3 separate regions of the Homo sapiens genome follow, and regions 1 and 2 are each linked to region 3. The links are contacts of gene promoters, found by promoter capture Hi-C in blood cells and fetal thymus (Javierre and others, 2016). All regions are on one chromosome and are shown on one strand. Each heading gives the region's core, a stretch centred on a gene start or on the middle of the fragment in contact. The rest is flanking DNA. Distances are from core to core; before and after follow the strand shown.

The links. Contacts are between HindIII fragments. The CHiCAGO score rates a contact against its expected background, and 5 or more counts as called.
Region 1: a contact is called between the fragment with the promoter of ADD1 here and a fragment that was not itself captured in region 3, in 4 of 17 cell types (erythroblasts, neutrophils, monocytes and 1 more). The highest score is 7.4, in erythroblasts.
Region 2: the fragment with the promoter of SLC75A1 here is called in contact with a fragment that was not itself captured in region 3 in 3 of 17 cell types (neutrophils, fetal thymus and activated CD4 T cells); the score reaches 6.8 in neutrophils.

What each region holds. Positions count from the first base shown.
Region 1 is chr4:2,841,007-2,845,673 of GRCh38, forward strand. It overlaps ADD1 (adducin 1), which reads left to right and starts at 2,838. Exons shown (of 16, transcript NM_001354761.2): 1 at 2,838-3,018. SH3BP2 (SH3 domain binding protein 2) reads left to right here. Exons shown (of 13, transcript NM_001122681.2): 13 at 1-90. RefSeq lists an enhancer at 1,610-2,121 and silencers at 2,250-2,299, 2,400-2,779, 2,840-3,029, 3,150-3,299. The HindIII fragment of the contact is 1,799 bases long and covers 2,144-3,942 here.
Region 2 is chr4:2,932,578-2,936,984 of GRCh38, forward strand. SLC75A1 (solute carrier family 75 member 1) reads right to left here and starts at 2,248. Exons shown (of 13, transcript NM_001146069.2): 1 at 2,192-2,248; 2 at 1,176-1,367; 3 at 990-1,086; 4 at 529-632; 5 at 23-181. The coding sequence starts at 1,346. NOP14-AS1 (NOP14 antisense RNA 1) reads left to right here and starts at 2,969. Exons shown (of 4, transcript NR_015453.2): 1 at 2,969-4,407. RefSeq lists enhancers at 489-718, 739-868, 961-1,828, 3,086-4,285, 4,088-4,327 and silencers at 1,669-1,888, 2,118-2,427, 2,588-2,697. The HindIII fragment of the contact is 5,918 bases long and covers 1-2,967 here.
Region 3 is chr4:2,244,020-2,248,679 of GRCh38, forward strand. MXD4 (MAX dimerization protein 4) reads right to left here. Exons shown (of 6, transcript NM_006454.3): 6 at 3,413-4,660. Among named protein-coding and RNA genes, the nearest start is that of MIR4800, 3.8 kb to the right of the region's middle. The HindIII fragment of the contact is 3,873 bases long and covers 586-4,458 here.

The DNA.
Region 1 (4,667 bases), core at 1,588-4,087, 600 kb after region 3:
TAGCATATAAAACACACCTTGTCTTTTAACTGGAGCATTTTGTCCATTGTGTATTTAATGTAATTAAATCTACCATCTTATTTTATGCTACATATTGTCTCACTTGTGTTTGTGTTTTCTTCCTCCCTTTTCTCTCCTTTTCCCCTTCTTTGAGATTGAGCAACTTAAAACAAATCATTTCATTTCCCCCCTTCTCCTAGTTAGAAAGTTAAACACTCTCTATTCTTACTGAAGTCTAGAGTTAACTAATAAATACTTTTATCCTCCTCCTGGACAACATAAGGACCTCAGGTGACTTTCATTGGTCTCCCTCATTACTTGATATTATTGTTGTATATATCTAATTCTAACTCAATGTATTTTAAAACTCTCACCTAAGACCGTATTTGTTTTTTTGTTTTTTTTTTTTTGGAGGCAGAGTCTCTGTCACCCAGGCTGGAGTGCAGTGGCGCCATCTTGGCTCATTGCAACCTCCATCTCCTGGGTTCAAGCAATTCTTGTGCCTCAGCCTCCTGAGTAGCTGGAATTACAGGTGCCTGCCACCAGACCCAGCTAATTTCTTGTATTTTTAGTAGAGACAGTGTTCTGCCATGTTGTCCATGTTGATCTCTTAACTCCTGAGCTCAGGCAATCCTCCCGCCTTGGCCTCCCAAATTGCTAGGATTACAGGCAAGAGCCACCACGCCTGGACCTTTTTACTTTTTTGTAGTTGGAAAAGGAAGGAATATTTTAATAGCTTTAAAATTGTTTTATTATGATAAAATTTTCATATTATAAAGTTTATCATTTTAATTATTTTAAAGTGTACAGTTCTGTGGCTTTGCGAATATTCATATTATTGTTCAGTCATCACCACCATCCATCTCCAGAACTTTTTCATCACCCCAAGCTTAAACTCTGTACCCATTAAACACTAAATCCCCATTCCTCCAGCCCTTTGCAACCACCATTCTACCTCCTGTCTCTCTGAATTTGACTACTCTAGACACCTCATACAAGTGGAATCATACATTTATCTTTTTGTGATTGGGTTATTTCACATAGCATGTCTTCAGTGTTCATCCATGTTGTAGCATGCGTCAGAATTTCCTTTCTTTTGGCCAGGCATCGTGGTTTATGGGTTTATGCCTGTAATCCCAGCACTTTGGGAGGCTGAGTTTGGATTTGGGAAGATTGCTTGAGCCTAGGAGTTTGAGACCAGCCCTGGCAACATAGTGAGATCCCGTCTCTACAAAAAATAACAAAAATTAGCCAGGCATGTTGGCACGTGCTGGTAGTCCCAGCTACTTGGGAGGCTGAGGCAGGAGGATCCCTTGAGCCTAGGAGGTCAAGGCTGCAGTGAGCCATGGTTGCAACACTGCACTGCAGCCTGGGCGACAGAGACCCTGACTCCAAAAAAAAAAAAAAAAAAAAAAAAAAGGCACAAAACCCCAATAAATAGAATTTCCTTCTCTGCATAATGCTGCTATGAACATGGTACAAATAGCTGTTTTCATTTCTTTGGGGTATATATCCAGAAGTGGAATTGCTGGATTATGTGGTAATTATGTTTAATTTTTTGAGGAACCACTCTACGGTTTTCCACAGCAGCCACACCATTTTACATTCCCGTCAGCGATGCACAAAGGGTTCCAATTTCTCCGCATCTTTGCCAACACTTATTTTCTTTTTTTCCTCTTCTTCCTCCTTCTCCCCCCTTGAAACTTTTTGTTTTCTTCTCGTTTTTGTAGAGAACAGGGTCTCCTTATGTTGTCCAGTCAAGTCTGCCAACTCCTGGGCTCAGGCTATCCTCCTGTTTCTGCCTCCCTAAGTGCTGGGATTTTAGGCTGAAGCCACTGCGCCCAACTCCCTGCTTCTTCAACTGCCATCCTAATGAATGTTAAGTGGTATCCCACAGTGGTTTTGATTTGCGTTTCCCTAGTGATTAACTATGGGAAGCAGAAGTGAATGAGACAGAATTGTGATCTTGTCAGAAAAATCGTCTTGGAAAAGCCAACGTCCAACAGAAATGGTTAGAACAGGGGTCGCTGGCTTCCATCCAGACAGTATCCCTGACCCTTGTTGGGGCAATGTCACAGAGGCTCCTGCTGAGCAGGGAGGTCTGGATTCCACACTCTTCTGCCACTGCCCAGCTCTGGACCTAAGCTTTCTATGGGTGTCAAGAGGACAAGCAGCCGTGCCCATTTGTCTCGCTGCTTGTTTTTTTGGGTGTCAGATGCGCCAGCAGGAGGGACAGTGTGCGGGAAGGTGCTGGTCTGAGGCTGGTCCTGCCAAAGCCCCGCAGGCTCACTCCCTGGTCGTGCGGAGGTGGCTGGTGCTCGCTGGTCTCCTCAGCACCCGCAGGCCGGGCCCGGGGGCCAGGCAGTTGTCCTCTGTGGAGCCTTATCGGGGCCCACAGGCCCTGCTGCCTTGACCCCACCCGGGCCCCAAAACTCGGCCTGGGGACTGCACAAGGCGGGGCTACGCGGGGCAGGGCCCGTCTGCTGGGGGAGTGCGCTGGGCGGCGGCGGGAGGGCAGGGTCCCTGGGCTCCGACAGCCCCTCCGGCGGAGGTCAATCACAATGAAACCGTGTCCAGCGGACCCGGCAGGGGCTCGCCGCAGTCTACCTGGCCACCGTGAAGCCATGACCTGGCGCCCGAAGCTGCCGGCCGGGGTGTACTCCGCGCGGGACCCTGGGCCTCCGCAGGCCCCGGCGGGGTCGCCCCGAGGCGGGCCTGGCGAGTCCAATCGCCCTGCCCGCAGGGGACCCGCCCCTCATGGGTCCCGCCAATCGCAGGGTACGTTGCTCGGCAGTGCTGCGCGGCTTGGCCTATGGGACGGCGCGTTGTTGGGCTGCAGCGCCGCAGGCCGCACCCAGGTCGGGCGGTGGGGGCGAGCGGAGGGGCTGAGGGGCGGAGAGGCCTGGCGGGCCGCTGCTGCGGGCCAGGGGACGGGGGCGGAGCCGGAGCCGGAGCCGACGGGCGGTGGCCGCACTGGGACCCCGGAATCCCGCGCGCTGCCCACGATTCGCTTCTGAGGTGAGGCTAGCTAGCGGGGGCGGCGGGGGCCCGGTTCGGGCTGAGGCGGCGGCGGGGGCGCGGGGAACTGGGCCGCGGTTGCGGCGGGCGGGGGCCGCGGGGCCTGCGGCGGCCCGGGCAGCCTCGGGGGCGGGGAGGCCGCTGCGGCGCCGAGGGCGTCTTGGAGGGGTCCCCGCGGGGCCTTCGGCCTGGGCCGAGCCGGGGAGCGAGGGCGCCGCAGATCTTTCATCGGGATAGGACCCCGGGGACTAGGCTTTTCCCGGGCCGCTCGTTCCTGGCCGGCTTGTGGGCTGCAGGGGTGGGGGCGGAGGAGGACGACCCTGGCTGGACGCTGGTCAGCATCCTGCTTGTGAGACCGGTTCCGCGGTCCGCAGCGCTGGTGGCTGCAAGGTTTGTGTACGGACGCATCTGTCGGCTCTCGTATTTAAAAACGACGGCTTCTGCCAAAAGAGAAAAGCCATATCTGCCGACGGACGCTCGAGAGATAATCGTGGAACTTTATCAGCGATGGGGCTGTTGGTCACCTTTGCCCTCCCTCTCTTTTCTTTTTTCTTAATCTTTTATTTTCGTTTTTTGGGAGATGTCAGAGGGCCTTTCCCTGTTAGGATGACTTTTATCTTTGCTCTTGTAATGGCTCAAGATAGTTGGGAGGTAATTTGCATTCACTTTATGCATACCCACCTTGAAAAACGTATTTTGGTTCGCCTGAAACTGTTGTTGGTTTGAGCATAATTTATGTTTAGAAAGACAAAAAGCAATTGTCATATCTCCAAAGACCAAAGACATAGCTGATAGCTGTATGCATTACTGGTAAGTTAAAGAAAGATTTTTTGTGTGAAAAATTGACTGAGATCTTAATGGGGATAGGAAATAGAATGCTGATAGGTCGACTGTGTCTATGAGTAGAGGCGCCTAGTGAAAACAAGCTTGGAGTGGATGAGTAGGAGTTCAACAGGCACCAGAGAGAGGAGGGCATTTCAGGCAGAGGGTGTGAATTGTATGAAAGTGAGTTTGTAAACTTTGGAGCCTTGAATGGACAAAGGCCCGCGATGATACCTTTTTTTTTTGAGACGGAGTCTCGCTCTGTCGCCAGGCTGGAGTACAGTGGCGCGATCTCCAGTCACTGCAATCTCCGCCTCCCAGGTTCAAGCAATTCTCCTACCTCAGCCTCCCGAGTAGCTGGGACTACAGGCGCGCGCCACCACGCCCAGCTAATTTTTGTATTTTTAGTAGAGACGGGGTTTCACCATGTTGGCCAGGATGGTCTCAGTCTCTTGACCTCGTGATCCGTCCGCCTAGGCCTCCAAAAGTGCTGGGATTACAGGCGTGAGCCACCGCGCCTGGCCTACGTTAAAATTTTAATATACTCCTTTGATTTTGACAGTGGAGAAAACTAGAATAGTAAAGTTGTCTTTTCAGGAAGTGGATGATTTGGGCAGTCAAAACTGCTTTTCAGAGTTTCGATGTGGTTTACAATGGTATGGACAGCTGGTATGATTTGTTAGTTTTCTACTTGTGGTGTCTTTAGGTTTTAAAGTTTCGGAGAGTCGCTGAGTGATGTGAGTCTAAACTCTAGCCAGTCCCCGAATTGTGAGATAGTTTTCCTTCTAAAATATACTTCGTACAAGCTGGTCATTTTTCCCCTTAAT
Region 2 (4,407 bases), core at 998-3,497, 690 kb after region 3:
AAGGCCCAGCCTGTGCACTTACCATGCCTTGACTGCGGGCCAGAGGCGAGCCCAGGTCAGCAACGATGGCCGTGGAGAGGCTGACGTTCCCTTTGCTGATGCCCCCAATCAGCCTGGAGGCCAGGAAGGCCGCAAAGCTCCGAGAGGTGGCCCAGACTGCATATGAGGTGGCCACACCCATCTGCCCAGGGGCAGGGGCCAAGAGGCAGGGGCGGTCGCTTAAGGCCAGGAGTGGCTCAGAGTAGGGCTTGGCAACCCAGACAACACCCCTCAACCCTGCCCTATTTCGAAGCATCTGAGGGCCACTTGCGTTCTCAGTGCCTTCCTAGGGGCCAGGAGCAGCTCCTTGAAAGCCTGGCTCTGGAACAGGAGCCACTGGTCCCCCGAGAACCCCCTCCAGGATGCGATGAGGGCCAACCAGTGGCCATGAGGGGCCCACAGCCACCTCCCTCTCCCCACCTAACCCCATGGGGCTACTGGCTGGGTGGGAGGAGGCTTCCCCATGGGCACCCAGGCCCAGGAACATACCAGGCACAGCAGCATCACCGGGCGCCTCCCCAAGCAGTCAGAGGTGGCCCCAGTGAGTGGCGCACACAGAAACTGCAGGACAGAGAATGCCGAGCCAATGAGACCTGAGAGACAGATGTCACCATCATGGGGCTGCCTGGCACCATGAGCTGTGGTCTTGGGGCCCTCAAGGCCAATGTCCAGCCCCGTCCTGAGGGTCCAGTCATGCTGGGCCCTACACTCACAGGCCATGGCCCTTGAGCCGAGGGGGCCCCAATGGAGAGATGAGGAAGGATCTGAACGTGACACGCGGAGGCAAGGGATCATGCCCAGAAGCCAGGACATGTGGGCAAGGGCACCAGACATGCCAGCCCAGGGAGTGGGAAGGCAAGGACCGAGAATTGGGGAGGGGCCTGGGCTGGACCACGTCCACCAAACATAGGACCGTAGAGAGCCCGCCAAGGGCACAGAGCCAGCCATACCTCCGAACAGGACACTGTTGTACCTCTTCTCCACTGGCATCCCGATGGCGGTGGCAAACCAGTCCACCCCGCCCTGCCAGGAGCCATAGAGGGGGTCCTAGGGGATGAGGAATCACGATAAGGGCTGGGGAGGTCTGATGGGCCTGGGGGGCAGGGGGCACTGTGGGCCGCAGGGCAAGGACTCACGTGGGCACGGCCGTGGCTCTCCAACAGCCCGGGCAGCAGGGGCAGCAGCAGCGTGAAGGCCAGGAGGTCCAGCAGGAGGCCGAGAAAGACAACGGTGACCACGCGGCGCTCCGGCGGCTGCTGGTGGATGGGTGGGCGCGGGGTGCAGCCTCCACCCCCTCCCCATCCCATGGTGGGCTGCTCTGACCTGGCCTGGGTGGGGTGCGGCGGGTCGGGTTAGCGGGGAAGCCGAGTCCTCCGGGGCCTGGCATACCCCCACACCCGACAGCCGGCGAGCACCCTAAAGGGGCTGATGGCAGGGGCTCTGGCCTACGGACGCAGGGGCCGTTCTGGCCTGCGCGATGCCCCCGCCCCGAACCCAGGCAGCAGGAAACGCAGGCTTCGGGGATTGCACAAAAAATAGCCGCAAAGGCAACGGTCCTGAGAGACCAGGGTGAGCACATCGCGGACCTGGCCCCACCCCACCCCACGGCCGCGCCTCCCACGCCCTCGTAACAGCGAGAGAAAACTTGAAGCCGCGGGGAACCCGGATCCCGATCCCGATCCCGATCCCGATCCCAACCCCAACCCCAGCCCCGGCCCGCGCCCCGCGATTCCGGCCCCTGGCCCGGACTCGGTCTCCCTGGCGGGGGCCATGGGGTGCACACCGGACGCAGGAGCACCCCCAACCCCGCGCGCCTCCCACTCCGCCATCCCGCGTGCGTCCCGGTCCCGCCCCCACCCCGCGCGCCCCCGGTCCCGCCCCCCACCCTGCGCGTCCCCGGTCCCGTCCCCCACCCTGCGCGCCCTCTAACCCCCACGCCGCGCGCCTCCCACCGCCCCCACCCCGCGCGCCCCTGGTCCAGCCCCACACCCCGCGCGCCCCCTACTCCCCTACCCTGCGCACCTCTCACCCGCCCCACCCCCGCGTACCCCGGGTCCCGTCTCCTCCCCCACCCCGCGCGTCCCCTGTCCCACCCCCAACCCGAGCGCCCCCTACGCCCCCCACCCCGGGCGCCCCCGGTCCCGCCCCGCACCTGCCGCGGCTGCGCGCTCGGGACGGACGGTCGCACAGACGCGGAACAGGGCACCAGGCACGCCGCCAGGGGCGGGACGGCCACGCCCGGCCACGCCACGCCCCGGAAGTGACGTACATCTCTGCACGTTCTCTTCCGGCCGGAGTCAGTGGCGGGGTTCTCGCCGGTCCTGCGGGTCGCTGCTTGGCTGTGGGTTAGCAGCACCCTGAGCGGAGCGGAAGAGCTGCCCGCCGCCGCGTAACCCCGAGGCCGAGACTCCTGGCCTGGCCTCCTTGGGCCCACGACGCCTGCCCCGCGGAGCGGACCCATGGGCCTGAGGTTTGTGTGCGGGGCCTCAGGCGAGCGCTGGCGCAGCCTGTCCCCCATCGTCTGCGCCCTGCGGGCCTGGCCCTCCCCGTGGAAGGACCGCGGGCTTCGGGGCCCCACGCTGGGGGGCTGACTCCTGCCACACACACAGCGGTGGCCGCGGGCCTGGGGCGGCAGCACAGCCATTCTGCTCGGGCTGCGTGAGCTGACCCCGCTCTCTGTGCACCTACTTTTGCTGCGTTTGGTGCTGAGCCTGAAGTCCCAGGACAGGCGGCTGAGGGGGAAAGATGGTGTGAATTGGGTGGGCAGAGACAACTGAAAGCCACAGGACCCGGTTGGCACCTTTTTGGCCGCCTGCGCCTTTGCCTGCAGCCCCGCTCCCTGGGTCACCCGAAGGAGGAGCTGGCGCTCTTTCCGGGCGCAGAAGCACCCGACCCACGCTGGAGGAAACGGTCCCTCTGGGCAGGAGAAGCTTTGGGCCTGGCTGGAGCACACTCACGGAACCACGCCAACGCCTGGCCTGTAGCCAGCTCCCACCTCCCCTCCCACCTTCTAAAATGCTTGCGGATCTCACGTGGCCGACCCTAACCAGATACACATGGGGAAAGGAATCAGGTGGCACACATACCGCCTTTACTCCATAGAGAACTTCCAATTGTGGGTAAGAACAAAGCCCCACCTCTTCCTAATAGATGCAGTTTTCCACCTGCAGCCAAAAAGACAACCTGTTATTAGCTTTTTTCCCAGAGGACAGGCATCTCTATGAAACTGCCATTGCAAAATTTGCCGACAGTGAGATAACCAGCTCCATTTTGCTTCTAACCTCCATGCCCTCCTTGTTTACTGCTGCACGCAGGTTGAACTGTGGGAGGAACTTAGTTTAAAACAAAGATGATAACAGCCCTTTCCCAAAGGAAACCTTTCCTGGGGATTAGCCTGCTTTTGTGGGACCAACAGATTAGCCACAAGATTAGAAACTACGGTTGAAGAGTCACGCAGCGGGAGGCTACAGGATTCTGACCCTCCCCAAACTGCTCCTGGCGATAACATCACCATCGTAAAGCCTAAGATCAGCACTTGGTGGGTCACCTGGCACCACCCAGGCTCATCTGATGTTGTGGCACCCAGGAACTGACTCAGTGCGAAAACAGCTTCGACTCCCTGTGATTTCATCTCTGACCTGACCAATGGGTACTTCTGACTCACTGGCTGCCCCCCACCCACCAGCTTATCTTTAAAAACTCCAAACCCCAGATGCTCAGGGAGACCGAGTAATAATAAAACTCCAGTCTCCCACACAGCTAGCTCTGCGTGAATTACCTTTTCTCTGTTGCAAATGCCCTTTCTTGATAAATTGGCTGTCTAGGTAACAGGGAAGGTGAACCCACTGGGCAGTTACACTTTTATCCACCCTTCCAGCTGGATCACGCGCCCTCTTCAATGACATGACACGCAGCTAGAGTGTATGAGCTTGCTGCCGGCACCTTCCGTCCTGGATCGCATAGCAAGGCCTCAATGGACAGCCAGGTGCCTGGTCCGGTCCCACTTTTTTTTCTGTCCTGTTCTCGTTTCCTCTTTGCTTGGCCAAAGAGGGTTGGGCCAGGGTCCTGAGTGCAAAGGCTTGGCTTGGTGAATTAAAGTGGCAGTAGCCGTGTGGCAGAGAAAATTTGTAGATGGGTGAAATCCTGGGCCTACACAGTGACAAAGTGTATATAGACAGCCAGCCTAGTTGGTGGATGTGACAACCCCAGACTCTTCTAGATTTGTGGATCCGTGCACCTGCCAGACCTGTCTCTGAGCCATCTGGGGAGGCTGGGTAAGATTTCCCCCGTCAGGGCCTGAGCCTCATCTCCAAGCTGCTGGCTTCAGCCCAGCTGCCACCAGCGCTGTCTCTGTCTTGCGCTTTCCAG
Region 3 (4,660 bases), core at 1,272-3,771:
AGAGAGACAGATAGAGACAGAGACAGACAGAGAGACAGAGACAGACAGAGACACAGAGAGAGAGAGAGAGGAGAAAGACAGAGAGCGAGCATGCAAAACAACACAAGCTGAGGGGGTGGGAATGCAGGGCTGAGGGGAGGATTTTTTATTTTGTTTTGTTTGAAAATGAGAGGAACTCGGGGATATTTATAGACTGCAAGGAGGAACTCTGAGGAGACAGCATTAAAGACGGCAGAAAGACAAGGGGCTCCTTTATAGAAAGAGATCCCTGGAGGGCAGGAGGGGTGCACTCCAGAGCCCTGGAGGCCGTTCTAGAAACCCACTTTCCTAGTGACTCCTGGGTGGTTTCTTGGGCCACAAATTAATTCTCCATCTGATTTTGAATTGCTGACCATAGTTATTTGTTGGAAAGGTGTTTATGAGACCATAAAAGCCATAAAACCATTAAGTAAAAATTACAACAGTATCAGCCCCTGGAGTACAAATGACAAACACAATAGGTTTAACTATACAGATGTGGAAAGTTTTCTTCAGCTTGCCTTGGGAATTTAAGAAAGCAAGTATGTTACGTGTATTTCCAGGGTAAGCTTTCTTTTCAGCAGTCAAAATTATTTGGAGTTTTAGTAAGGTCAAAAGATAAATGGAACCCAGGAATTAATCCTCCCTGAAAAAGCCCATGAGAATATAATGGACTAAACAGACCTAAAGACAGAGCTGTGAGGATCAAGTGTTTTTGCTGTTTGCTTTTTCTCCTTCCTGTGGAAGCGATTTTCTCCTATTAGTATTAAAAAATATTTTAGGTTTTGGACAGTATCTTTTCTGACTGTTTTTAAACTTTAGAAGTAACAGTCAGATGCTAAAGATTATTTCTTTTAGATGTAGTTTTCCATGAATTTTGTGGGACTCTATTCTGCAAGCAATGGAGAATGGGGGCTGTTTTCAAGCAGGAGAGTGAATTCTCAGATGTGTGTTAGAAGCATAATTCTGCAAGATGAAAAATGACAAAAGGTGGTAAGAGACAAGATACAGGACCACTCTTGCAGCATGTAGGAGAGGAGGAGAGAGCTGGACAGAGAGAGCTGCAGGAGCTGGCAAAGCCTGGGGCCTGATGACTAGCCTGGGTCCGAGACACTCCGGGGTTTCCAGCTGAGTAGGGAGTGGCATTTCTTCCTATTCTTCCCACTAATCCTTCCTGTTAAGAAGAAAGTAGAAGACTATAGGGTTGGGAAAGAGTTTGTTTTCCATCCTGTTGACATTCATGTGACAAAGCGAGAACTCAGTCCCCAGACTCAGGAGCAGGTTTGGGTCAGCACAAGCCCAAAGGAGGTGACAGAGTTCATTCACCAAGGTGGCCACGTGGAGAGGGCCTTTGAAGTGGGGAGGAATGGGAACCACAAGGGCTGGCAGCAGAGCCTGGGACTGGTGGGGTGTCAGAAAGGGCCTCAGGACAGGAAGAGGAGTTGTGAACCCCTGAGGCTCAGCAGGCCAGTGGCATAACCATTTACATTCTAGAAAGATCCCCATGAGGCCAGTGTGTACAGGGCTGACCTGGCCAAGGACTAGGAAAGGAGGAAGGAGCAATGCGAGAAGGCCCTGTGGCGATTAGCCCAGATGATTCCAGCGCCTAATTTGGGTGACCATAATCTCAGCAAAAATGTGGTGGGAAGGGATATAGGGGGCTCAGGGCCCACTTCCCAGAGGAGGCTGTGCCTGAGCTGGTGAATGCAGGGAGCAGGTGGGAGTGGGGGCTGAAGCCAGGGCAGGGGTGGGCCGGACTGAGCTGAAGGACAAAACGCGGTGTTTCAGTTTAATCTGGAGGCCATGGGGACCCAGAGGAGGACTTTAGGGAGGTGAGCAAGGAGACCTTTAAGGTCATTCAGGCTGCCAAGAAGAGGGTGGGTAGGAGGCTGCAGGCAGGGTCCTACTTGGAGGGGGACTTGCTGTAACCCAACAAGCACAAAGATGGAAAACAGAGATGGACTCTGCTGGGAGAATCAAGGGCTTCCCAAAGGACAGGGGTCCTGTCCCAGGTATCCCACCCGCCAGCCTGGTGAGCAGGGGAGGGGTGCGTCTCCAAATCTCAGTGTGCCACCTGTGAGAAGGGCCCAGCATGATGGTACCAGGCACCAATCATACATGGAACTGGGCACAGCCCCTGGCACCTGCATGCCCTCGATAGAAAACGGTAGTGGTGATCCCAAATCCTAATATTTGGGATTTAAATGTCCACATTTACATGAATGGCCAAATCCTGGTGTCTCTGAGGCCCCAGCCACATTCCCAGGAGGAACTGCTTTCTTTCCTGGGGTGCCCCCGCTAATGGCCTCGAGGGCCCTGGGGCCCACACAGGTTCAACGATCCGGACTCTGCTGCTGGGGGTTAGGGGAGCTCAGATTCCTCCCTGAGGCCCCCAGCAGTTACCCTCCATGGCCACCCCACAACCTGCTGGCGGGTCCCACTGGGCCACCTCCAGTGCATAGCTGCCGTGTGCACAGTGTGGCGACCTCACACTCAGGACCCCCCGTATGACCACCCAGCTCCATCAATTCTCCAGCACTCAAGGCAGGCATGTCCTCTCTCAGCTGCCCACTGCTGGGGCCCCCAGGACTCCTCCCTGTGCACCAGGGTAGCTGGGCCCACACCCCCACCAACCCCGGCCCTCGGCAGATCAGAGGTCTCTGCTTCCAAGGGGGTTCCCTCCAAAAGGCCTCCCTGTGGGGGAGCGGGCAGCCAGCCTGGCTTGCTTGGGTGAGAACAAGGCCTCTTCTCCCCACTGCGTGAAGTCTCATCGCCTCACAACCACCCCGTGATGGGCACGACAGGAGCCTGTGTCTCCGTGGTCACCACCAGCACAAGGGGACAGCTGGCTACACCATCTCGCTTCACCTCAGCACGGCAGGTCCCCATGACAGGAAGCAGAAGCCGTGCCCAGGTAGTTCTGGGAACAGGTACAGAGCGATTCTCACAGTGCAGCTCTGAGAGCCAGCAGCCTCTGTGCAGAGGGCTCCTGGCTGGCACGGAGCACCCCAGGGAGCGGGCTGTCCTCGGCCAGCAGGGCCCCAGCACAAGGGCCAGAGGCAAAGTCCCAGTGCCTCTGGGACAAGAGCAACAAGAGCATCCAGTTGGCCAACAGGCCCATGGGGGCGCCCACCTCAACCCCACCTTCACCCAGCTCCAGGCGCCACAGCATCCAGGGAGGCAGCTGTGACGGCGGGCCCGGTGTGGTTGGCGGCACGGGGTGCCGTGCTCCGTCAGGCCTCCCAGGAAAGAGGCTGTGGTAGGGCAACGAGGGCCACGGCCCGAAGGCCACATGGCGTGGTGCCATTGGGCCAGGCTTTCTGCTTGGAGGCCGAGGGCAGGGCGCGAAGCACGCTGACAGTGACAACCACAGAAAGAGCCGGAGCCAGCAGGGTGAGATATAAAAATCTGTATTTATATTACAATGACATAAGGACACAGCACGGCCCACACGGTGGACAGGTGGCCGGGGGCCCCTTTCCCCCTCTAGCGCACGCCCCCCTCACCGGCACCAGGCCCTCGTGTGGCCCCCGACTCTGGCACGGAACCTGCCCTAGTGCCCAACATGGACCTGGGGCCACCCTGCTGGCCGAGGGTCAGGGTCCTCTGTGCAGGCAGTGGGGAGGGGGTCCCAGGTTCCCTGACAGAGGGAGGCAGGGCACGGGGGAGCCTGCCTCACCCAGCGGACAGCACGGGCCGGGGCAGACAGAGCAGGGACCCTAGGGCCACAGACCGGTACAGGGTTCCACCACCCGGGGACACAGGCCCAAGCACCGTGCCACTAAGATGGGGTCTGCAGAGGCAAAGCCTTGCTGCAGCCTCTCCCACTCTGCGAGGATGGCGGGGGTCTGCTATGTGGTTTGCGGGGGTTATCCTGGTATGCGGGAGCTGCCTTCCAATAAGGCTGGGGAACCCAAGCCTGAGTCTGGGTGCTCAGTGGCCGAGAGCACTGGTGTGGGCTGGGAGGGCACACGCAGAGGCTCAGGAGCCCCGGGCTCTGTTCTGCTTCTGTCTGCTCTCTATAGACACGGTGATGGCCTCTTGGTCCCTGCAGCCTCCAGTGATGGCAGCCTGGGCCCCTGACAGGGAGCAGTGGGAGGTTGGAGCATGTGGTGACTCCTAGCACGGGCCCCCACCCAGTGGGCAACCCCTCACCCACCTGCTGATGGCAGGGAGGGGCAGCTGAACAGCACCCCGGGTGGCTGAGACTGCCTCCCAGTCCACGTGGGAACCACGGCCTCAAGAGCCACAGGCTGAGCTGCCGGGAGGGTGGGCTGAGGGGCCACCACTGGTCACCGGGTGGATTCTGCTGGTCAGAGATGAGAGCAGAAGCCCCTAGCTGCCTCAGGCACTGGAGGGTGGGGCAGGGAGCTGGTGCTTCAAGAATTGAGGGCAGGGACACGACCACCTCAGGGCCCTGCAGTGCTGGCTGGGGAAGCAAGCTTTTACACACGGCCCGCCTTGCTCGGAGGTGCCACGGTGTTTGAAATGAAGCCTGGGGGGACAGACTCAGGCAGGCAGGGGAAGCTCCTTTCTGGGCACCCCTGGACCCCAGTGGGGCCGGAAGGAGATGCAGACAGGCCTCCTCACAACCACCCGCAACGCGTTCGGATGCCCCTCAGCTCCAGGCACCATGCCCCCT